Regions from separate parts of the Homo sapiens genome. Here all the other regions are linked to region 1. The links are contacts of gene promoters, found by promoter capture Hi-C in human tissues and cell types (Jung and others, 2019). All regions are on one chromosome and are shown on one strand. Each heading gives the region's core, a stretch centred on a gene start or on the middle of the fragment in contact. The rest is flanking DNA. Distances are from core to core; before and after follow the strand shown. Region 1 holds the start of AZGP1 (alpha-2-glycoprotein 1, zinc-binding). Region 2 holds the start of PPP1R35 (protein phosphatase 1 regulatory subunit 35). Region 3 overlaps ZNF655 (zinc finger protein 655). Region 4 overlaps ZSCAN25 (zinc finger and SCAN domain containing 25).

Evidence for each region. Contacts are between HindIII fragments. The study calls those that stand out against the background at their distance.
Region 2: a contact is called between the fragment with the promoter of PPP1R35 here and the fragment with the promoter of AZGP1 in region 1, in 1 of the 25 tissues and cell types used here (heart left ventricle).
Region 3: a contact is called between a fragment that was not itself captured here and the fragment with the promoter of AZGP1 in region 1, in 4 of the 25 tissues and cell types used here (adrenal gland, dorsolateral prefrontal cortex, lymphoblastoid cells and 1 more).
Region 4: a contact is called between a fragment that was not itself captured here and the fragment with the promoter of AZGP1 in region 1, in 2 of the 25 tissues and cell types used here (heart left ventricle and pancreas).

Annotation. Positions count from the first base shown.
Region 1 is chr7:99,973,334-99,979,407 of GRCh38, forward strand. AZGP1 (alpha-2-glycoprotein 1, zinc-binding) reads right to left here and starts at 2,698. Exons shown (of 4, transcript NM_001185.4): 1 at 2,612-2,698. The coding sequence starts at 2,687. The HindIII fragment of the contact is 25,198 bases long and covers 1-6,074 here.
Region 2 is chr7:100,432,855-100,438,928 of GRCh38, forward strand. It overlaps PPP1R35 (protein phosphatase 1 regulatory subunit 35), which reads right to left and starts at 3,643. Exons shown (of 4, transcript NM_145030.4): 1 at 3,287-3,643; 2 at 2,994-3,210; 3 at 2,777-2,913; 4 at 2,428-2,679. The coding sequence starts at 3,520. The coding sequence ends at 2,506. It overlaps PPP1R35-AS1 (PPP1R35 antisense RNA 1), which reads left to right and starts at 3,814. Exons shown (of 3, transcript NR_187540.1): 1 at 3,814-4,306; 2 at 5,527-5,648. It overlaps MEPCE (methylphosphate capping enzyme), which reads left to right. Exons shown (of 4, transcript NM_019606.6): 2 at 65-283; 3 at 409-535; 4 at 648-1,264. The coding sequence ends at 700. RefSeq lists a silencer at 2,963-3,442 and enhancers at 3,730-4,233, 3,903-4,082, 4,234-4,736. The HindIII fragment of the contact is 5,329 bases long and covers 3,134-6,074 here.
Region 3 is chr7:99,570,835-99,576,908 of GRCh38, forward strand. It overlaps ZNF655 (zinc finger protein 655), which reads left to right. Exons shown (of 3, transcript NM_138494.3): 3 at 1,411-5,619. The coding sequence ends at 2,750. Among named protein-coding and RNA genes, the nearest start is that of ZNF655, 15 kb to the left of the region's middle. The HindIII fragment of the contact is 3,683 bases long and covers 1,767-5,449 here.
Region 4 is chr7:99,630,673-99,636,746 of GRCh38, forward strand. It overlaps ZSCAN25 (zinc finger and SCAN domain containing 25), which reads left to right. Exons shown (of 8, transcript NM_145115.3): 8 at 1-1,736. It also overlaps the pseudogene LOC442603. Among named protein-coding and RNA genes, the nearest start is that of ZSCAN25, 17 kb to the left of the region's middle. The HindIII fragment of the contact is 6,968 bases long and covers 9-6,074 here.

The DNA of each region.
Region 1 (6,074 bases), core at 1,448-3,947:
TATTTTATGATACAATTTACACAGGTGCTAATGATGTTGGAGGTCATATGGCAGAATCCTAGTTCAATTACTAAAATTATTCTTGCTCCTGAGTGTCTAAATGTGATTAGCCTTTAAATCAGTAGACCCTACAATTGAATTCATGGACATAGAGAGTAGAAGGATGGTTACCAAAGGCTGGGAAGGGTAGTGGCAGGGTTGGGGGGAAATTGGGAGGGTGGTTAATGGGTACAAAAAAAATAGTTAGAAAACTATTTGATAGCACAACAAAGTGACTCCAGTGAATAATAATTTAACTGGGGCCAGGTGTGGTGGCTCATGCCTGTAATTCCAACACTTTGGGAAGCTGAGGCAGGTGGGTCACTTGAGGTCAGGAGTTCGAAACCAGCCTGGCCAACATGGTGAAACCCCATCTCTACTAAAAATACATAAATTAGCCGGGCGTGGTGGCACACACCTGTAGTCCCAGCGACTCAGAAGGCTGAGGCAGGAGAATCGCTTAAGCCCGGGAGGCAGAGGTTGCAGTGAGCCAAGATTGCACCACTGCATTCCAGCCTGGGCAACTCTGTCACAAAAAAAAAAAAAAAAAGAAGAATGAATAAGACCTACTATTTGATAGCACAACAGGGTGACTATAGTCAATAATAATTTAACTGGGGCCAGGTGTGGTGGCTCGTGCCTGTAATTCCAGCACTCTGGGAGGCTGAAGTGAGTGGATCACTTGAGGTCAAGAGGTCAAGACCAGTCTAGCCAACATGGTGAAACCCTATCTCTATTAAAAATACATAAGTTAGCCGTGTGTGGCAGTGTACACCCGAGGCAAGATAATTGCTTGAACCCAACAGGCGGAGGTTTGCAGTAAGCCAAGATCACGCCACTGCACTCCAGCCTGGGTGACAGAACAAGAATCCATCTCAAAAATAATAATAATAATCATAATTTAATTGTACACTTTTAAATAACCAAAAGAGAGGCCAGGCGCAGTTGCTGACACCTGTAATCCCGGCACTTTGGGAGACCAAGGCGGGCAGATCACGAGGTCAGGATATCAAGACTAGCCTGGCCAACATGATGAAACCCGTCTCTACTAAAAATACAAAAAAATTAGCCAGGTGTGGTGGCAGGTGCCTGTAGTCCTAGCTACTCAGGAGACTGAGGCAGGAAAATTGCTTGAACCTGGGAGGCGGAGGTTGCAGTGAGCCGAGATCATGCCACTGCACTCCTGCCTGGGTGACAGAGTGAGACTCTGTCTCAAAAATAAATAAATAAATAAATAATCAAATACTTTTAAAAACTAAAATAACCAAAAAAGTATAATTGGATTGTCTGTAACACAAACGATAAAAGCTTGAAGGGATGGATACCTCATTTTTGATGATGTGATTATTTCACATTGCATGCCTGAATCAAAACCTCTCATGTACCCCATAAATATATACACATACTATGCACCCACAGTTTTTTTTTTAATTTACAAAAAAATCAGTAGACCTTGAGTAAAGTGGATTACTCTCCATAGTGGTGGGCTTCATCCAATCAGTTGAAGGCCTTAAGAGAAAAAGCCTCAGATGTCCCCTAAAGAGGAAAGAATTCTGCCTACAGTCTGCCCTTGGAATCAAGACTAAGACATCAACTCTTCCCTGGGTCTCCAGCCTGCTGGCCGGCTCTGAAGATTTAGGACTTGTTACTCCTCCCAATAGTGTGAGTCAATTTCTTAAAATAAATCTCTACTCTCTCTCTCTTTTGTATACATATATGTAAATCTCTTCCTATGTGTGTGTGTATCCATGTGTATACAGTGTATGTATGTATGTGTACGTACATATATATGTATATGTGTACCACCTATTAGTTCTGTTTCTCTGGAGAACCCTGAGTAATTCAGATTTTGGCACAGAATCAGATTAACATTCCAAAGTGATTGTTATATAACAAACATATAACACCTTTTCTGACAATTTGTAAATGTCATGAATTTTAAACTCACACAACTGAGAAGCCATTCGCTTCCATGTCTTTATCCTGCACATTCTCATGCCACAAACAGCCTCCTTCCCTTATCCTAGGAGTGACTCTTGATCTCCCGGAGCTCCCACTCTCTTCTCTTCCAGCCACTCGCCTTCCAGACCCACTGCAGTGGTGTCTGAGTGTGGGATTTGGGCACGGGTTTCCTTCTAGCACCATCCCTCCAGCCAACCTGCCTTCCCACTTTCCCCTTGGGGCTGCTCTCTCTTTCCCTCAGCGTCAGGCAGGTGTACCCAGCCATCGGAAGGAGGGAAGGAACAGGAGCAGAAGCAGCTCCAGGCATATGGTTCCTACTCCGTCCTGACTGTCTACCCCAAGCAGGTCGCTTGGTCTTTGGAGTCTTTGTTTTCACTGTAAACTAGGGGTTTTAGATTCAGATTCCTGAAGGTCTTATTTCGGGCCAGCGCAGAGGCTCCCTGAATGCTCCTGGAAGTGTGTGAGCTGAGGGAGTTGACAGCCTTGGGCACCCATTCCTGCCGTATGCCAGGGTATCCCAGCTGCATCCAGCCTGTCTCCCAGCCACATGTCCTGTTCCTCACCTCCTTCCAGTCCTCTCCAGCACCCATCCCTTGCTTTCCCCACTCACCATCTTGGTTCTCCTGGGGGACAGCAGGACCCAGAAGCAGCAGCAGAGACAGCAGGACAGGCACCATTCTTACCATTGTGTCTGCTTGGAGGGTTCTGGGCAGGAGGCACAGATATTATCCTGGGTCCTGGGGCCCTGCCCAGGGGAGGTGAATCTACAGGCCAATGGGAGTGCCAGGACGGGCTCCTCCCCTAATAGAGAAAAAAAAATGATACACAAGCTAGGCTGGGCAGAGGTTATGAAGAATGAATCTACACACAGGATATGCAAATTCAGAGCTGAGTCCAGAGTTGATCTCTGGACTGAGGCTTTGTGTGTGCCTGGGGTGGAAGGATGCCAGTGGGTAGGAGGTGCGTGTGATGGGTGGCAAGCGCCTGGGATGTGTCACCCTTCCAGTCTATTGTGACAACCCCTGGGCCAGTAGGGGCATTTGTGTGTTTTTGGACCACACTGTATCCCTGCCTTCCAGAAAAACTCTCAACATGTCCAAGACATGGACCTGGGTAGACCCCAGCTGGGGTGGGACCCTCACTCTCCCACATCCGATCCTGCCAGAGGCTGTGTCTGGAGGACAGTCACATTCCCATCTCTCCCTCCTTCCTTTCTGTGCCTGTGGAATCCCAGCCTTCCATGATGGAAGCAGAAATAGCCGCATCCTCCTTTTGCAGCCTCCCTGGCAACAGAACGAGCCTCCCAAAATGCTGGGATTAAAGGCGTGAGCCACCACGCCCAGCCAAGATAATTTTTAATGCATACAACAAGACTCGTTTTACACAGACGAAGCCAGTTATTTGAAAACCAGGTCTTTCCAGGCACGCTCAGTGTTGATGGGCTATTTGCAGAGAGACCCTCCGAATACAAAGCAACATGCTATTCTAAAGTGACTGGGGCCCGGGTGCGGTGACTCATGCTTGTAATCCCAGCACTTTGGGAGGCTGAGGTGGTTGGATCACCTCAGGTTGAGGTCAGGTACTCGAGACCAGCCTGGGCAACATGATGAAACCTCGTCTCTACTGAAAAAATACAAGAATTAGCTGCGCGTGGTGGCACATGCCTATAATCCCAGCACTCAGGAAGCTGAGGCAGGGGTTTCACCATGTTGGCCAAGCTGGTTTTGAACTCCTGACCTCGTGATCTGCCCGCCTCGGTCTCCCAAAGTGCTGGGTTTACTAGTGTGAGCAACTGTGCCCAGCCTCTCTTTTGGTTAAAGAAACCTACAAAGGGACCTTTTATAGTGACTTCAATTTTATGGAATAATTGTAATGCTCCTAAGGCCGTTGTGCTCCAAAGTCTAGCCGCAGGTATTGTTATTGATTGGGCTCCAAAAGGGCATTATTGGCAAGATTGCTCCAGCAAAAATACCTCATGCTCAGAGTTTAATTATTTGTTAGATTATGTAGAGGATGGATGGCAGTCATACAGGCTGAGACAATGGGTGTCCCCTTACCTATTTAAATGGATGGATGCAGGCATTACTCCTCCTAGACCAAAAATGATTCATCCCTTTGTTACCCCAGAACATCCTCAACTATGAAAATTAGCTGCAGCTATGACAGGAATAAGGATATGGAACACTACCTATCAACTCCTTCACACTAATACCAAAACACCCACATTCAACATCACCCTCATATCTGAACGGGTGATACCCATCAGGAGCTATGTCAAACCCCCTTACATGCTGTTGGTTGGAAATATAATTATCATTCCCAATACACAAACTATAGAATGTGATAACTGTAAGCTGTTCACGTGCATTGATGCTACTTTTAATCCCACTACAAGTACTCTCTTGGTAAGGGCTAGGGAGGGGGTATGGATACCAGTTTCTTTACATCGTCCATGGGAGTCTTCCCCCTCTATTCACATAGTCAATGAAGTTCTTAAAGGTATCCGCAAAAGAACAAAGAGATTTATTTTTACTCTTATTGCCATCATTGCAGGACTAATTGCGGTTACTGCAACAGCAGCAACTGCTGGAGTTGCCATCCACAATTCTGTTCAAACCGTTCAATATGTTGAATTGAAGCATGGCAGAAAAACTCCTCCAGACTTTGGAATTCTCAGGCTCAAATTGATCAAAAATTAGCTAATCAAATTAATGATCTCCGCCAAAGTGTAATCTGGCTGGGAGATATGAATTTGGAACACCGTATGCAATTACAGAGTGATTGGAATACTTCTGATTATTGCATAATGCCTTATGCTTATAATAAATATCAACATAGCTGGGAAAATGTCTCAAGACATTTAAAAGCCTGGGATGATAACTTAACCTTGGATATTTCAAAACTTAAAGAGCAAATTTTCGAGGATTCACAAGCTCATTTATCCACTGTTCCTGGCTCAGACATTTTTGAAGGCATAACTAAACAATTATCTGATCTTAATCCCTTTAAATAGATCAAACCCCTTGGAGGATCATTGTTGTCACTGGCATTATTAATATTGGTATGCTTACGTTGTCTCCTTTTAGCCTGCAGATGCCTCCAAGGAGTCCGAAAACAAATCCGAAGTCAACGACAAGCAATGATGGCGATGGCGATCCTAGTTAATAAAAAGGGGGGAGATGTGGGCGGCAAGCCATCCAGGTGCCAAGCCAAGAGACCGAGGGCATGAGTTGTTCCAGTATAATAAAATATATAAAACAACAAGAGTTATACTAGATCTAGATCATAGATATGATTATATATCAATATCATTAATCATTAGTTTTTTCCAAATTTATTATTCCAATATTATAATATTATAATAATCCTCCAATATTATAATTTATTCCAATATTATAATAATCTTCGCTGCATAATCATAACCTAAGAAAAACCAGGCCATACAGAGATAGGAGCTGAGGGGACATAGTGAGAAGTGACCAGAAGACAAGAGTGCGAGCCTTCTGTTATGCCCAGACAGGGCCACCAGAAGGGCTCCTTGGTCTAGCAGTAACGCCAGTGTCTGGGAAGACGCCCCTTGCCGAGCGGACGGTGGTCTAGCGGTAGCCTCAGTGTCAAGGAAAACACCCGCTACTTAGCTGACCGGGAAAGGGAGTCTCCCTTTCCTTGGGGGAGTTTAGAGAAGACTCTACTCCTCCACCTCTTGTGGAGGGCCTGACATCAGTCAGGCCCGCCCGCAGTTATCCAGAGGCCTAACCGTCTCCCTGTGATGCTGTGCTTCAGTGGTCACGCTCCTAGTCCGCCTTCATGTTCCATCCTGTACACCTGGCTCTGCCTTTTAGATAACAATAGCAAATTAGTGAAAGTACTAAGTCTCTGATAAGCAGAAATAATGGCATAAGCTGTCTCTCTCTCTTCCTCTTTCTCTCTGCCTTGGCTGCCAGGCAGGGAAGGGCCCCCTGTCCAGTGGACACATGACCCACGTGACCTTACCTATCATTGGAGATGACTCACACTCTTTACCCTGCCCCTTTTGCTTTGTATCCAATAAATAACAGCGCAGCCAGACATTC
Region 2 (6,074 bases), core at 2,393-4,892, 460 kb after region 1:
GTTGCCTGGGAGCAGGGGTTCTTTGATTCCCTCAGTTGACCTCACTGCCGATTCTTGCCCTCAGGGTAATTATGTGCTGGATCGAGATGACCTGGTGGAGGCCCAAACACCTGAGTATGATGTGGTGCTCTGCCTCAGCCTCACCAAGTGGGTGCATCTGAACTGGGGAGACGAGGGCCTGAAGCGCATGTTTCGCCGGATCTACCGGCACCTACGCCCTGGGGGCATCCTGGTCCTAGAGCCCCAACCCTGGTCGTCGTATGGCAAGAGAAAGACTCTTACAGTGAGTTGGGTGTTGGGGGAATAGTCATTCCTTTGGTTGAGGCAAGAAAAGGCCCCGAGGTGGGCATCGCCCTTGGCCAGGGGAGGCGGCAGCGTGCTGAAGTGGTCCCTTGCCTCTCTCCTTAGGAAACGATCTACAAGAACTACTACCGAATCCAATTGAAGCCAGAGCAGTTCAGTTCCTACCTGACATCCCCAGACGTGGGCTTCTCCAGCTATGAGCTTGTGGCCACACCCCACAACACCTCTAAAGGTAAGGCTGGTTTATTTTGTCAGGGAGGCTGGTCCTGGCTGAAAGAGTGCAGACCCCCATGGGGATTCTTGAGGTGCTGCCAACCCCTTCTGATCACTCTCTCTCCCCTCAGGCTTCCAGCGTCCTGTGTACCTGTTCCACAAGGCCCGATCCCCCAGCCACTAAGTGGCCCCCTAAACAGAAAGTGTGAAGAGGCTGCCCTCGCTGCTCATAAGGACCTGGGGGAAGAGGAAAGTGTCCCAAGGTCTTTCCTTTCTGACTCCAAAAATAGTTTCCTTTCTTGGATCTGCAAAGAAAGCTTTTCTTCCGTCGCTGCCTCAGCCTCCTCCCTATGCCTCTGGCACCTGCGCAGCAAGGCTGGCTGTGCTGGAGTCACCATCATCTTCCTCTCCCCCAGCCTCCCAGGCTGGATGGCATGGACTGTTTGCTGACCTCTGTTCTCTTAGGGCATGGGAGGTGGGAGGATATCAAATTCTCTAGCCCTTTCCTCCTATTCTCCCAAGGAGAGAGATTCCCATTTCTCCTCGGCCATTGTACCTAGCTCTTGTCCCTAGCTGCATTTCAGTGGACCATGGATAGAGGGACTGAGGGTTAGACGGGGAAGACTGGCAGGGAGGCACGCAGGTACTGTGAAAATCCTTCCCTTTGCCCTCCCCCAGTGGGAGAGGGGGTTGGGTTTTCAATGTGAGAACAGCACAATAAACTTGATGTCTAGGGCAGTGGCCCCCACACCTGTCTCGGTACTGTCTAGCTGGTGGGGGATGGGTGGTGCCTCCCACCAGAACCTGTGCTGTTTATCTTCCATCTCAAGGAAGACACGTTTTTCAGTGGTTGAGCTGATTGTTGAACACTAGTCAAGTCCACACGCAAGTACACAGAAGCCTAGTCAGGAAAAGGTGTGTAATGCAAATTTTGGTGTGGAACTTGGAGTCTGCCTTCCCTCCCCAGAAAAACCCCGTAGACGTTTTGGGCAGAAGGCTAACTTTTTGGTTTTTGTTTTTCTGAGATGGAGATTTGTTCTGTCGTCAGGCTGGAGTACAGTGGTGTGATCTCGGCTTACCGCAATATCCGCCTCCCAGGTTCAAGTGATTCTCCTGCCTCACCCTCCCAAGTAGCTGGGATTACAGGCACGCGCCACCATGCCCAGCTAATTTTTTGTATTTTTAGTAGACACGGGGGTTTCGCCATGTTGGCCAGGCTGGTTTCAAACTCCTGACCTCAGGTGATCCACCCGCCTCGGCCTTCTAAAGTGCTGGGATTACAGGCGCGAGCCACTGCACCTGGCCAGAAGGCTAACTTGGAAAGAGTTGACGGTGGAGGTAGGCAAAAGTGCTTTGGATCAAATGCCCAGGGACGGGCCAGCACCTTTTTTGTGCTGTGGAATCAGACTTACAGGCAATTAACAACATGAAGCTCTTCGGGGGCTTGTTAGGTGTTACTGGAACTTCGAACATACTGAGTATTCAGGTCAGGTGTAAACAGGATGGGCAAGGCTCTTAAAGGTAAAAAGCAAGGAGATAATTTCAGTAACTCAGTGCAGACAGCTGGCTTGCAAGCTCCTTGAGACAGGTAATCATGGAAGGTTTTCGTGAAGTGTGATAGGCTGGGCTCTGCATTTTGAGAGATCAGAATAAGTGATGCAGAGAACAATCGCTACCTGATCAAAAACAGGCAGTAGCTGTGGCTGAAGTCAGGGAGAGGCAGGTAAGGTTGTGAACGGAGGGGTATCTAAGTAAACCTCTAACGTGGACAGTGTTTTCCACTTGCCATGACTCTACCAAGTTCCAAAAAGGCCCCCAAACCCGACTTCCAGGCAGCTTCCAACCTGAGGCTAAGTGGATAACCCCCTAGAGAGCTTTTAACCCCATTTTAGGCCTCCAAGAAGAGTCCCATTTATTAGCAAAATTACTTTATTCTAACAAATAGTTTAACACAAAAATACGAACTAGCCCTCCAGGGATCTTTGGGGTCTACGCTTCCCATCGCCTCAGTGTCCGGTGCATGAGGAAGGTGTCCTCTGAAGGGCGGGGCCGGAGTTGAAGTCGGAGAGGGGGCAGACCGTCCAGGGTCAGGTGTGGAGATTCATAAAATAGCGTTTCTGGGTCACACAAGATGGTCATGTCTGGCCCAGGCCCAGGTGGCTCCTGTTGGGAGGTTGGGCCCAAAGCAAGGTTACACTTTGGGAGGAAGGATCCGGGTAAGGGGGTACATGGAGGAAGCCCCACGCCCAGACCCCATCACCTTTGGGTGCGGGGCTCGAGCCTGTGGCGGCAGGAGAGCCAATTTCTCCCTGAGCGCGGCATTCAGAACCTGTTCCTCCGGCACCTGCAGGCTCACCAGGTCCCGGAAGAGCCGCTTGGAGCGCGGCACGTTCAGCCCTGAGAGCGCAGCGGGGACGGAGGTGAGTGGCGCGCCTCACCCCGACTCCCGCACGCGGCCGGCCGCCCGCCCCCCTCACCCTCGGACACGCTCTCCTCCAGGCCGCAGCGGATCTGGAACGACTTTCTCAGCTGTTCCTCCACGGCCTTCGCAGCATCAAAGTGGCTCCCGGCTGCGGCCCGCAGCTCCAGGCCCAAGGCCAGGCTGCTCTTCAGCACGGGCATCTCCAGCTCCTGCGGCACCGCAGGCTGCGGCTCGGACCGCACCGGGGAGGGCGGCGTCAGGCGGAAGCGGACCTGGGAGCAGAGGGCAGGGCAGTGACCAGGTGGGCGCGAGGCCGTCGCGGGCCGGGGGCCAGCCTCCCCCGCTCACCTGCCGCCGCTGCCGAGCCGCGCCCCGCCGCTCCGCCCGCCCCTTCCGCCGCCCGGGGCTGCCGTGCCGCGGCTGAGGGCTGTCGGGCCGCGGGCTCAGGCTCAAGTCCAGGCCGGGCTCGGGCACTGGGGCTCGGAGTTGCGGGACTTGGGGCTCCGGGGGTGGCCCCGGGACCGCCGCGGCTTCTTCCCCGTCCGCCGACTTCAGCTCTGACTCCCCACAACCCATCATCATCTTTGGAGGTGCCTTGAGGGTGCGGGGATGCGGGGGTCGCAGACGCTCCAACGGTCAGGGGACACAGCCTGGCTGCCGCCTCCTTTCCCCCGCCCCTCCTAGACGCCGCTACCGGAAACCGTTAACCCTTTCCTTCGGGGGCGGAGTCAGCAGCCCCACCCACCCTGTTGTCGCTCCCAGGCGTCATTTCCCTCGCTCCGTCCCCAGGTTTCCGGCAGGCTTCCGCACTCACAGCCTTGGCACCGCCCCCAAGCCGAAGTGTTGGAAGCACTCACAGCCTTGGCACCGCCCCCAAGCCGAAGTGTTTTTGAGCTGGGGTCGGTTGAAGCCCTACGGGTCCTCATCAGGGCCACTCCTCCTCTTGAAAACTCTGCTATGGCTGAGTTACCCAGAGGAATCTTAGTCCTGCTAGCGCTGCGATGCCCATTGCCCAGTGTGTCAGTCCTCATTCTGGGGCGCCAAATGGGGCAGCATTTTTTTTTTTTTTTGAGACTGAGCCTCTCTCTGTAGCCCAGGCTGGAGTGCAGGGGCGCGATTTCGGCTCACTGCAACCTCCGCCTCCCAGGTTCAAGAGATTCTCCTGCCTCAGCCTCCTGAGTAGCTGGGATTACAGGCGCGCGCCATCACGCCCGGCTAATTTTTGTATTTTTAGTAGAGACGGTTTCACCATGTTGGTCAGGCTGGTCTCGAACTCCTGACCTCGTGATCCGCCCACCTCGGCCTCCCAAAGTGCTGGGATTACAGGCATGAGCCACCGCACCTGGCCATAAATGGGGCAGCTTTAAGGTAACGGTCCAGTGTGCCCTGACCTCCCACTCAGACCTGCACAGCATTTCCGGTGTTCCGTTGCCTCCAAACTCGGACCGGAGTTGGCCTGTATGAGTGCGGGCGAGGGTCGCCGACCCCATCCCGGACTCCCTTCTGGGACACAGCAACTCTTGCAGCTTTTTGTGACTACTTTTACCTTCGAGAGTTCCCTGAAATATTAATTTGTATAAAAAGTAGATATCTGGCACGGGTGCGGTAGCGCATACCTGCAATTCCAACTCTGGGAGGCCAAGGCGGGAAGATGTCTTGAAACCCTGAGCTGGAGACAAGCATGGGCAACATACCGAGACTCCACACCACCATTCCCAATCTCTACCAAAAGAATTTAATTTTAGCCGGGCGTGGTGGTGGTGCTCACCTGTAGTCCCAGCTACTGGGAAGGCTGAGGCGGGAGGATCACTTGAGTCCAGGAGTTCCAGGCTGCAATGAGCTCTGATCATACCACTGCGCTCTAGCCTGGGCGACAGAGCAAGACCCTGTCTCAGAAACAAACAAAAAACTCTGTATTGTGGGTTCAATGTTTTATTTTGTTTTTTGAGACGGAGTCTCGCTCTGGTGCCCAGGCTGGAGACTGTGGCACAATCTCAGCTCACTGCAACGTCTGCCTCCAGTGTTCAAGCAATTCTCCCACCTTAGCCTCCCAAGTAGGTGGGATTACAGGCGCCTACCACCACACCCGGCTAATTTTTTTTGTATTTTTAGTAGAGACAGGGTTTCACCGTGTTGGCCTCGAACTCCTGACCTCAAGTGGTTCAGCTGCCTTGGCCTCCCAAAGTGCTATGATTACAGGCAGTAGCCACTGCACCCAGCCTTGAATTCAGTTTTTTTAATTTTTAATGTCAGTGGACTTATCCTGGGCCCTGAGCTTTTCCACATAGCAGAAGACCCCTGAACTGCAGAAAAGGAAATGAGAGCTCCCACCTGCTCCTTAGGTTACTTGGGGCAGGTCCCCTCAATTCTGCAAGTCTCCTTTCATTTTTTGTGTAGAATGTAAGTGGAAGTGGGTTCAGGAATCCTTTCTTACTCTTTTTTTTTTTTTTTTTTTAATTCTCCAAACTGCTTCAAAAAGGTTCAGGAATCTTGAAGCTTTCCTGGAATTGATTGATGCTCAGTCAACAGGCACGTTTGTGTACCACTTTTCATTATGAGTTTCCACATTGTTCATTTTATCTTTCCAGGAAGTGCTGTGGAACATCAGATAGAATGGATAGCACAGCCCAAATTTTACAAAAAGGATTTTAAAGGAAGATCTCAATGGTGGAACACTAGAGGCTTTCCTGCTAAAGTTAAGAACAAGCAAGTATGTCTATTATCTCATTGTTCAATTGTGAAAAGAAATAGCGAGGTACAAATATAAATTTTTAAACTGGGAGTATAAATTAAAAATTTTTAATAGCGACATAGGAGGGAGAGAATAGAATGAAAGACAAACAGTCTTATTCCTCCAAATATACTTTGTTTTGTATATTTGACTTTGGAAATGTATGCATTTTATATGATTATATTAAAAGGTTTTAAAAAATCAGGCCAGGCACAGTGGCTTACACCTGTAATCCCAGCACTTTGGGAAGCCCGGGTGGGTGGATCACTTGAGGTCAGGAGTTCGAGACCAGCCTGGCCAGCATGGTGAAACCCCGTTTCTACTAAAAATATAAAAATTAGCCAGGCGTGGTGGTGCACACCTGTAATCCCAGCTACTTGGGAAGCTGAGGCACAAGAATCGCTT
Region 3 (6,074 bases), core at 2,358-4,857, 400 kb before region 1:
AAAAACTGCCCTTTGATACTAATAGTATTAAAATTCTGTCTCCTTGGAAGCAGACTGCCTGTTGCTTTAGCTTTAAAAGAGATTTATATCCAAGCATTGCATTATGCAAGCCATAGAAAGACTGTTTTATGTGAAGATGCACTGATTGCACTTCCCTCTCTATATTTTATTGTAGTTAGTTGTTTAGAGCTGTCTCTGTGTAGAGTGTGAGGTCCTTGAGGGAAGGGACCTTCTTGGCCTCTTATCCCCTGCATACTTTGCATAGAGGAGGCACTTCATAAATGTTTGTTGAATAAATGCTACACTCCTAATGGGTAAGAATGTGTCATATTACTCTTTGTTTTCTTATGTGTACTGAAACAAATTGTTTCTTGAGATTGGTCCTTAGAATATTTATTCAGTTTTCACTGATTCTCTTGCTACAGGTTAGCTAACCATGCAGCAGGTGCTTGAGTTTCACCTTTCTCCAGTCCAGCAGAATTACATTTTGATGACCTCCATTTTGATACTTGTAGACCAGATCTAATCCGAAGATTAATCTTTAGGTAACAGATGGAGAGTGATAATGATAACTTCTGTGAAGACAAACCCATGCACACATTCTGTTGTCTGAATAATATTTAAATGAATCCTTCTGCTCCCAAGTCATCAACTTGCCCCTTAACACACATCCCTCTAGAGCACAAATCTGAGCTCCTTGTAGATCTTTGCCCTCTTCACTCTCCAGACCTTCCTAATTAATGTCTTCTCAGAATCGACCTTCTGTCTCTCTTAATCATTAGTTAAAAGAAAAAGTGGCAGATGTAGGACCTGGGGATACATTGCCACATCCCATTTCCTTCTCTATGAGCAGGATTTCCAATTTCCAAGCCTGATGGGATCTCCCAGCTGGAACAGGATCTACAGGTCTTTGATCTGGAAACTAAGACTAGAGAAGTCTTAAGAGATGACTGCTCAGGTGAGTAAGGCAGAATCAGATAGAATTAGTAGGGAAGTAAAGTTCAATTGTTGAGCCAAGTTGTAGCTGCTTTGGCACTCAGAATGAAGAGCTCTGTGTGTGTCCTAGCATGGAGAGTTCCTTCCTTTTCCCTTCAGTTAGGTTGACCCTTTCCATTTGTTTAGTATCCGTGCACATGTCGTACTAGACCCCAATCAAGTTGCTTATCTAAAATTCTTTCAGCTGTTTCCCTATTATTTCCTTACTCTGCTGAACATGTCCGCTGTTTTACCTCACTGCTCCTGTTTATGCCCTTAACTTCTGCTGTTGAGATTTTGTGCCTGTTTTTCAGAGTAAATAAACTTTTCTTGTCCTTGTAGATACTACATTGTTTAGTTTTCTCATCTGAGTTTTCTTTTCCTAAGCACAGGGTACAGATTACATTTGCATTTTCTATTTATATATTGTATCAGATGGAGAGACCAGAGAAGAGAACAAGCTGTTGATTCCTAAGCAGAAAATTTCGGAAGAAGTGCATTCATACAAAGTGAGAGTAGGAAGACTCAAACACGATATTACCCAAGTTCCTGAGACTAGAGAAGTGTATAAGTCTGAGGACAGATTAGAAAGACTTCAGGAAATTCTAAGGAAATTTCTGTACCTGGAGAGAGAGTTTAGGCAAATAACAATCAGCAAGGAAACCTTCACCAGTGAGAAGAACAATGAATGTCATGAACCCGAAAAAAGCTTCAGTCTGGACTCTACTATTGATGCAGATCAGAGAGTTCTTAGAATACAGAATACCGATGACAATGATAAGTATGACATGAGCTTCAACCAGAATTCAGCCTCTGGTAAACATGAACACTTAAATCTAACAGAGGATTTTCAGAGTAGTGAATGTAAGGAAAGCTTAATGGATCTCTCCCACCTTAATAAATGGGAGAGCATCCCTAACACTGAGAAATCCTATAAATGTGATGTATGTGGGAAAATTTTCCATCAGAGCTCAGCCCTTACTAGACATCAGAGAATCCATACTAGAGAGAAGCCCTACAAATGTAAAGAATGTGAAAAGTCTTTCAGTCAGAGCTCAAGTCTTAGTCGACATAAAAGAATACACACTAGAGAAAAACCTTACAAATGTGAAGCATCTGATAAATCCTGTGAAGCGTCTGATAAATCCTGTAGTCCAAGCTCAGGCATAATTCAGCATAAGAAAATTCACACCAGAGCCAAATCTTACAAATGTAGCAGTTGTGAAAGAGTCTTCAGTCGTAGTGTCCACCTTACTCAACATCAGAAAATTCACAAAGAGATGCCCTGTAAGTGTACTGTATGTGGCAGTGACTTCTGCCATACTTCATACCTACTTGAACATCAGAGGGTCCATCATGAAGAGAAAGCCTATGAGTATGATGAATATGGGTTGGCCTATATTAAACAACAAGGAATTCATTTCAGAGAAAAGCCCTATACGTGTAGTGAATGTGGAAAAGACTTCAGATTGAATTCACATCTTATTCAGCATCAAAGAATTCACACAGGAGAGAAAGCACATGAATGTAATGAATGTGGAAAAGCTTTCAGTCAAACCTCATGCCTTATTCAGCATCACAAAATGCATAGGAAAGAGAAATCGTATGAATGTAATGAGTATGAGGGCAGTTTCAGTCATAGCTCAGATCTTATCCTGCAACAAGAAGTCCTCACCAGACAGAAAGCCTTTGATTGTGATGTATGGGAAAAGAACTCCAGTCAGAGAGCACATCTAGTTCAACATCAGAGCATTCATACCAAAGAGAACTCATGAATGTAATGAAGATGGGAAGATATTTATCAAATTCAGGCTTCATTCAGCATCTGAGAGTTCACACCAGGGAGAAATCATGTATGTACTGCATGTGGTAAAGCCTTCAGTCATAGCTCAGCCATTGCTCAGCATCAGATAATTCACACCAGAGAGAAACCCTCTGAATGTGACGAATGAAGAAAAGGTATTAGTGTTAAACTCTTAATCGACTCCTGCAAATCTATACCAGTGAGAAATCTTACAAATGTATTGAATGTGGCAAATTTTTCATGCTATTAGTATTTTCATACCTTAGTCACATTTGGAGAATTCACATGGGAATAAAATTCCATTGCTGCAATGAATGTGAAAAAGCCATCAGTCAAAGAAACTACCTTGTTTAGTATCAAATTCACGCCATGCAAAAAGATTATAAATGTAATAAGCATGTATGTGTGTGAGGAGATTCAGTCATAACCCAACGCTCATTCAACATCAAAGAATTTATACCTAAGAGAACTTATTTGGGTGTAGTAAATGGCAGATCTTTCAATAGGAGTTTAACTAGTCTTTGTCATATCAGAATATCCATAGTAGACAAGAATTTGATGTAACGCAAATGGAAAAACTCGACACCACATTTCAGGCTTTACCCAACATCGAAATAATGGAGAGAAAATTGTTGATTATTTGTTTATGAAATTGTTAATACATAGTCCCAATCTTTTTCATTGCACAAAAATCTAGGGTTGACTTGGTAAATGCAGTGACATTTTCTCATGGAGTTCCTTTATTTAATATGTATTCTAAGTAGGTACGTTTATTTTTACTTTTTTATTATAATTTTGATATTAAAAAGAACAGAGATGGGGTCTTGCTTTGTTGCCCAGGCTGGTCTTGAACTCCTGGCCTCAAGCGATCCTCCCACCTGTCCTCCCAAAGTGCTGGGGTTACAGGCGTGTGTCACTGTGCTGGGCCTATTTTATTTATAGAACTCATTTAAGCTGTTTTTATTTTAATATGCCCTATAAACATTTTTATATTTTTTGAAATTGGTTCTTAGTGTTCACAACTTCCATAAGATACTGCTAATGCACCAGTATTAAAACACATCGACGTAAGTAGCTCATTTAGCTTTTTCTGCTGTTCTTGGCCCAAGTTCTTTCCAAAACCAACTCTTAGGCCTGCTCTTTACTAGGGATCTTATGTCGTATTGCTTTACAGCCACAACACTTGGATTCCTGTTGATTAACTTCTCCATTCTCTTAAGCACCTTTAGAAGATTTAGAAGTTTCCTAGTTTTAAGTGTTTCACCAGCAAGTATTCCATACCTACTTGATGTTGCTGGTCTGGTGTCTTATTTCCTAAAGTGAAGCATCTTTTTTTAAAAAAGAATTTGATTGACAATATATCCAGTCCAATATAAGTATGAAGGATTCTCTCTCCTGAGATTGTAGCAGGCAGCCAAACATTTTCAAATGATGCCCAAGGTTTTAGCTGTCTTGTGTGCATCCACAGTCTGCGAAGAAGACATGATAAGGACATCAGGGAGCCAACAAGACTCCTAATAGCCTCACTACATTCATCCAGTGCCTATTCTGCATGCCTAAGCTTAGAGTTCTTTTATATACCTCTACGGCCAGCAAAATGCTCAGGTCTGCTCTTGGTAGGGTAAACATAAAGAAGATACACAGGCCGGGCATGGTGGCTCACACCTGTAATCCCAGCACTTTGGGAGGCTGAGGCGGATGGATCACGAGGTCAGGCAGTCGAGACCATCCTGGCCAACATGGTGAAACCCCGTCTCTACTAAAAATACAAAAGTTAGCCGGGTGTGGTGGCACGCGCCTGTAATCCCAGCTACTCAGGAGGCTGAGGCAGGAGAACTGCTTGAACCTGGGAGGCGGAGGTTGCAGTGAGCCGAGATTGCACCACTGCACTCCAGCCTGGGCGACAGAGCAGGACTCTCTCTCAAAAAAACACAAAAAAACAAAAACAAAAAACCATACACACACACACACACACACAAATCAGCATCATAAGGGAATGTAGCCTTCCAACAGAGATGATGCTGTTCGTATGTTAATCTCAGAGACAGTATTTCAAGAGAGTGGCAGGTCTGTTCCTGGTAAAATTTTAACCATTAGGATTGCAGATAAATGTTTGAATTCTGCTCCTCTCTCATCAATCCAGGACAGTATTTGAAGTGTGAGGGCTTTGTGTATAGTTGTTTATCCATTACCACATTTTTGTATTTTAATAGTCTACAGGCTATATAAAAGAACATGGCTTTTTGACTGATAAAAGTGATTACAGATGTTGGCTCAAGTTCAGGGCCACCATCATATACCTAACAAGAGTTCATGATTCTTTAGGTAATGTCAAAACATTTTGTATTTTTCCATCTTAAGCTTTATAACATTTTGTGAGTAAGACAAATGTTATTTAAAATTCTTGTTGTCAGTCCAGCAATTGAGGCTTTCATAGTTCAGTGTTATAATATTCAGTAGGGACCCTCAACAAATATATAAAAATATGTTGCTCACTCTATAATCCTCCTATGGCTAACCTCTAGGATAGTTCTGCCACTATATTTTACTTCTTTGCCATCAGCAAGAGTAGGATTTCATCAAGGCAAGGTAGGAATCTAAATGAAATTGATATATAAATGAATTGATCTAAATGTAAAAGCAAATGAAAAATGCATGTGTTTTTTCCTGTCAAACATGTATACCCTTATGTATAGAGACCAGTAGTCACGTATGGTGACTGAAACAGGATTATGTAATCCCTAAAAAGCAGAATATGTAAAAATCACATGTATGCGTTTGGTTTAGGAATGTGCTTTTGTACTTCCACTTGAATAAAGGTGTGTTTGGTATTCTGAGAATTTGTTTCAAACAAAATCTGAAGGTCTCAGACAGAAGCGTTTGGGAATGTTGGAATCACATCTCTGGCTGCAACTCCTTTCCTCCCTGGAACTTGCTTCACAGCAAGAATGGATCACTTTCCTTTGCATTGATAACAAAGCTTGCTTTTCCACAGACCTCTGGAACAAAAGCTGAATGTTTGGGACTTAAAGGGGATTTGATTGGGAAGTTGTTGGTATATAAAATAAGACTAAATAGTTCGAGGTTTCAGTAGAACTAGGAATAACTTTTTGTTTGTTTGTTTGTTTTTTGAGACAGTCTCGTTCTGTCACCCAGGCTGGAGTGCAGTAGCGTGATCTCGGCTCACTGCAACCTCCGCCTCCTGGGTTCAAACGATTGTCTTGTGTCAGCCTCCCAAGTAGCTGGGATTACAGGCACCTGCCACCTTGCCTGGCTGATTTTTGTATTTTTAGTA
Region 4 (6,074 bases), core at 2,243-4,742, 340 kb before region 1:
AGGCAACTGTGTGAATTTTACATTATTTGGAGCCTCATCTGTGTCAGGCTATAACATTCTATCCTCATCTGTAAAACTTCCCCGTCCATTATTCCTTGCACTATAACAACTGTCAACACACCAACTATTAGGAAGTTAGTATTTTGCTATTGATCACTGAATAAACATCAGAGTATTTTAAAAAACAGTTCTCTAGAAAGAACTGTTATAATTAAAATGAGTCTGAAAGATGAACTCTAGTATTAATGCCCTATATTTGATGGCACTTTATAGTTCATAAAATTAATTTCACCCCATTCTCATTGGACCCATTTCCCAAGTATTTATTGAGGCCCTGTAACAAACATGTCAGGAACTCTTCTGGGTGCTTGAGACACATCCATGAATAAAATAGGGGGAGAAGCTGTTGACCTCGTAGAGCTTATGTCTCGTGGATGTACCTGATCTTCAGAACCCGTGGATATTCCTGCAAATCCTCTGGGCCTGTATTCATTGCTTTGTCAGCATCTTGCCCTGAAATGCATTTGTCACCTACCTCTTGTTACTAAATGGTCTCTGCCCTCCAGACCCTTGTCATCCAAGGCACTAGGGGTCCTGGACACCCACTGGGGATGATGAGCTGGTAGCGACCTGTTTTGCATGAGTGCCAAGTCAGGAAAAATAAAGATATTTGTAGGCATTAAAAAAAAATACATTTCTTTAAAAATGAGAAGATGCAATATTTGTAAACTGTTGAAGCTTCCTTATTGTGCCATCACTTAAGGGTTTCATTTCTGTTTAAAGTTCTGGAAGCTGCATAACTAGCGTGGACTGACTGCTGTGTCATTGTGCTGTGCCTTTGAACCCTGGCTGAGTGAGTGAGTTTGTCCTTTGTTGATAGTGTCCTATAATTGCAAAATGTGGTTTGTCTTCTGATGCCTCTTAATACCAGATTCTTTTACTGAGATTTTTTTTTTTCATTTTCCATTGTAAATAAGGTAAATGGTAATGACTAACACAAAGCTGTATTACTCAGCCCACTTTGAAACGTGGTTTTATCACCTGTTCTTGTTAGGCAGCATGGTGTCTAATTTTGGCTTAGCAAATGACGCTCCTTGGTCTTCCTGGCTCATTAGCTGTGCCCACGAGGCTGCACTGACTGGGTCGTAAATGTATCTGAGATGTCCACACGGGGCTGCTGCTGCTCCTCTGTAATACTGAGGTCCACATGCAAAATCAGCTTTTTTTCCCCCGTAATTATCAGAGCAGCTAGGCAGGGCTGACAGCCAGGCAGACTCAGTGGGAGGCTTCTGGCCTGAGTGTGGCCTTCCCCAGAGGGTGGTTTTCCAAAGGCAGGTGGGGACTGGGGAGGCCTCGGGGGGCTGCTTGTCATTACCTGAATCACAGATGCTCTTTTGTCATACACAGCCAGCATTCCTCTGGGTTTCAGCAAGTTGGCATATCTTAAGCTTCAGAAGGAGCTGGGCCTTGCTGACTTTCCTATCTGGCCTCTTCCCTATCTCCTGTGGGGCCAAGAGCTTAGGACAGTGTCTCAGAAAAGCCTCTAAGTAGGGGGTTTTTCCCATGGGATTGTGGTAGTCTGATTTTTCATATCTATTCAAATGTTAAGAAATATTTTGTTTTCTGTATTTTTCTATTCTTTAGAAATTTTTTTATAATAGATAATTTCAAACCTATATAAATAAATCCTTATGTATTTATCATTTGACTTTATTATAAACTCATAATCAATCTTGTTTCATCTCTGTCCACTCCTTCCTCCCCGTCTTCCTCCCCCACTGAAGTTTCGAAGTGTATCCCAAGTGTTGTTTATAACCATTTCAGTGTGTACCTGTAAAAGGTAAGGGCGGCTGGGTGTGGTGGCTTACACCTGTGATCCCACCACTTTGGGAGGCCAAGGTGGGATTGCTTGAGAGGAGTTCGAGACCAGCCTGAGCAACATAGTGAGACCTCATCTACAAACAAATATTAACTGGGCATGGGTGGTGCATGCCTGTGGTCCCAGCTATTCAGGAGGCTGAGGCTGGGCATCACTTGACCCCAAGAGGTTGAGGTTGCAGTGAGCCCTGATTGTGCCATTGCACTCCAGCCTGGGAGACAGAGCAAGACCCTGTCTCAAAACAAAACAGTTCCTTAATGTCAAAATATCCAGTGAATTTTAAGAACCCACCTAATTTTTCAATATAATATAATTTGTTGCTTTGTCTCTTAAGGCTTATAATCTGTAGTACTTATCCTTTTCTTCTTGAGATTTATTCATTTTAAAAAACTCGATCATTTATCCTGGAGAGTTTTTTACATTCTGCATTTTCTGTTGTTTTTTTTTTTTTTGAGCTGGAGTCTCGCTCTGTTGCCCAGGCTGGAGTGCAGTGGCACAGTCTCAGCTCACCGCAACCTCCCTGTCCCGGGTTCAAGCGATTCTCCTGCCTCAGCCTCCCAAGTAGCTGGGATTACAGGCATGTGCCACCATGCCCAGCTAATCATTCTGCATTTTCTGTTTGCATACCCATGGCGTGATTTAACATATTTCCCTGCCTTCTGTATTATCTAAAAATGTAGAAGTGTTTAGTGGTGTAATCAGATTCATATTTCACATTTTGGCAAGAACACATTATAGATTGTGACATGCCCTGTTTCTCTTCATATGATTTTAGAAGCCTAGATCTGCTTCTTTCGTTAGTTCTGTAAATGCTTCATCATTTAGTAGTTGGAATATTGTAAGAAATTTCCCTTCATTAACTTAGGTTACCCTTAGATATAGTTCATACAGGGAAGGCAAGAAAATGCTTGATCCTCCTCTTTATTTGCCTGTTTTCAGAATAATGAGCTAGTTACTTTTTGCTTCCTGTAAAGGCAGTCAAGTCTGTAGAAATCAATGCATTCATAGCTTTTTGCTTTTATTGGTTTTTTTGAGACAGAGTCTTGCTCTGTCACCCAGGCTGGAATGCAGTGGTGCAATTGTAGTTCACTGCAGCCTCAAACTGCCAGGCTAAGGTGCTACCCCTTCCTTGGCCTTGCAAAGTATTGAGATTACAGGTGTGGGCCACTGCACCTGGCCTGCACTCATGGATTTAAACATACTTGGTATTGATCAGTCTGCTGGAGTTATAATTTGATGCTCAAATTATTTCACCTTTGACCAGTGGAGGCCCCTGGACCTTGGCTCCTGAATCCTTTTGACATAACCCTAATTCTCATTGACAGCTTCTTTGCTTTCTGGCATGACAAGATGTTCCAGGCAAATGTTCCGTATTTCCTGCCCCTTTTGAGAGTGAAAGTGGGTGCTATTTATTATGCTGGGACAGTGGTGTAAACCGGGACTCTCCAGGTCAAACGGGTATTTGGTCAACTCATAGATGGGCCTCCTTTTGTATGACAAGGCATCTGTGGTTGCCTCACATTGTGATGATGCTGTACACCTTCAGTGTCTGGCTGCATGTGCCGTGCTGCTGGGTAATGAGGGAGGCTGTTGTCCTTTGCAAGAGAAACTCTGTTTTCTCCCCTGGGTGGTGGTAGAACCAGGTAACTGCCTAAGGTCTGTCCTGGGGAAATATTTCATCAAGAAAGTTTGGTCCATGTCATAGTGTGTGCTATGGGTGTTGTCTGCAGGCTGATTATGCTTAAAATACTTTCAGTACCTGTTTTATCCCAGCTGAGAGGCAAGGAGAACCTTTGTTTCTTAAAAAATAAGCTGGTTTCAGCCAGGTGCGGTGGCTCACGCCTGTAATCCCAGCTCTTTGGGAGGCCGAGGCGGGCGGATCACCTGAAGCCAGGAGTTCGAGACCAGCCTGGACAACATGGTGAGACCTTGTCTTTATTAAAAATGCAAAAATTTGGCCAGGCGCGGTGGCTCACGCCTGTAATCCCAGCACTTTGGGAGTCCGAGGCAGGTGGATCACAAGGTCAGGAGATTGAGACCATCCTGGTTAACACAGTGAAACCCCATCTCTACTAAAAATATATAAAAAAACAAAATTAGCTGGGCATGGTGGTGGGCACCTGTAGTCCTAGCTACTTGGGAGCCTGAGGCAGGAGAATGGTGTGAACCCGGGAGGCGGAGCTTGCAGTGAGCCGAGATCGCACCACTGCACTGCAGCCTGGGGGACAGAGTGAGACTCCGTCTCAAAAACAAAACAAAACAAAATTAGCCAAGCGTGGTGGCAGGCGCCTGAGGCAGGAGAATCACTTGAACCCGGGGGGCGGAGGTTGCAGTGAGCCGAGATCATGCCACTGCACTCCAGCCTGGGTGACAGAGCGAGACTCTGTCTCAATAGTAATAATAATAATAATAAGCTGGTTTCAAGTCCCCTCCCTCTGTACAGTACAGATTGACTTAATCCACTTCTGAGACAGGGAAAATGACAGGTAGCAACATGTTTCTGTAGCAGGTACTTGCTCTTAAACTTTGCCAGGGTTTCTCAACCCCTGCACTGTTAACATTTTGTGCCAGATAATTCTCTGTTGGCAGCTGTCCTGGTTGGTTTTTTTTTTTTTCACTGTGTAATTCCTTTATTTTCTGCATATTAGTGCTTTACTAACACTACAACCATAAAGAACACAGTTTCAGGTACTGTACTTTTTAGTTTGGGGCGATCATAGTCTACAGACTCATTTACTTATATTAAACAAGATTAACCTCATTCAAAACATACTGCAGTTTATAAATTCACATAAATACAGAAACTGATGCAATTAAACAACTTCAGGATCTTATTTTTTCAATTCTTAGATTATAATTTTTTTCTGCAGGCTATAATTACCTGCTCCAGTCACCAATGATTATTGTTCAATTTAACTACATCAATTATAAACCTCTTATATCCTTAAAGAAAATTTTAAGTGAAAATTACAATTTCTTACCAAAAGGTTTAGAGTTTTCCAAATTTCAAATATTTCCTTCCCCCTCCCCCATTTCCAGTCAGACATTTCAAATAAACTAAAAATAACCACATCTCACCTGCAACATTCAATAATAGCAATCACTTGATGTATAAAATTTTAACTATGCTCCCAGTTATTTTAAGACACAAAAAAGTGGCTGCCTACCAATCTGTCTTCACAAGTTAGAAATACTACATTGAAGATATAACATGGGCTGGGCGCGGTGGCTCATGCCTGTAATCCCAGCACTTTGGGAGGCTGAGGCGGGCGGATCACGAGGTCAGGAGATCGAGACCATCCTGGATAACATGGTGAAACCCCGTGTCTGCTAAAAATACAAAAAATTAGCCGGGCGTGGTGGCGGGCCCCTGTAGTCCCAACTACTTGGGAGGCTGAGGCAGGAGAATGGCGTGAACCCGGGAGGCAGAGCTTGCAGTGAGTGGAGATCGCGCCACTGCACTCCAGCCTGGGCAACAGAGCGAGACTCCATCTCAAAAAAAAAAAAAAAAAAAAAAAAGATTTAACATGAGGGTTTCAAGTTTCCTCCGGTTTAGGCATTTATACCTTTGTGCTTGTTTTGTTTCAGGATGTTACTATAGCATTGATGTTGGATAACCCATATTTATATACCTTAAAATGCAATCATTTAAAACACTAAGGATTACATTTATGGTGGAACTTTGGGAATTTTAGAAAGCAACCAGTGTTCTTAGATGTGTTTATTAGCCTTATTTCTAGAACTATTTCTACTAAAGTGAAACTGAGAACTTCGTACTTTAGTTGCATCTTGAAATCAAAAATCCCTCTGCACCAACAGGAGCCTACATGAGAATAACCTTTTGCATCTGCTTTAAGTAAAATGTTTGTCAAGAGTTTTACTTTAAATAGTTCATTTTTTTTATAGTCTTACACTTCTCATACGTCTTTGGTAAAAGCTCCATTATACAATATGGCCAAAGCGTGAAGGACCAATACTGTCCAACTATACCAAGATGTCCCGCTTAATTTTAGTTTTCAGACACACTCATAAACAAAACCCACTCCACCTTTTCCTGTATACTGCCTTTGCAGTCTACATTTCTTAAATTCCCTATTTAATTCCTTGAGGATCACTAAAATTATTCCTTAAGGCTATATAGGAGCCAGATGCTGCTTTACAATTCTGCATCAAGCATTAACATTTGGTTCAAAAT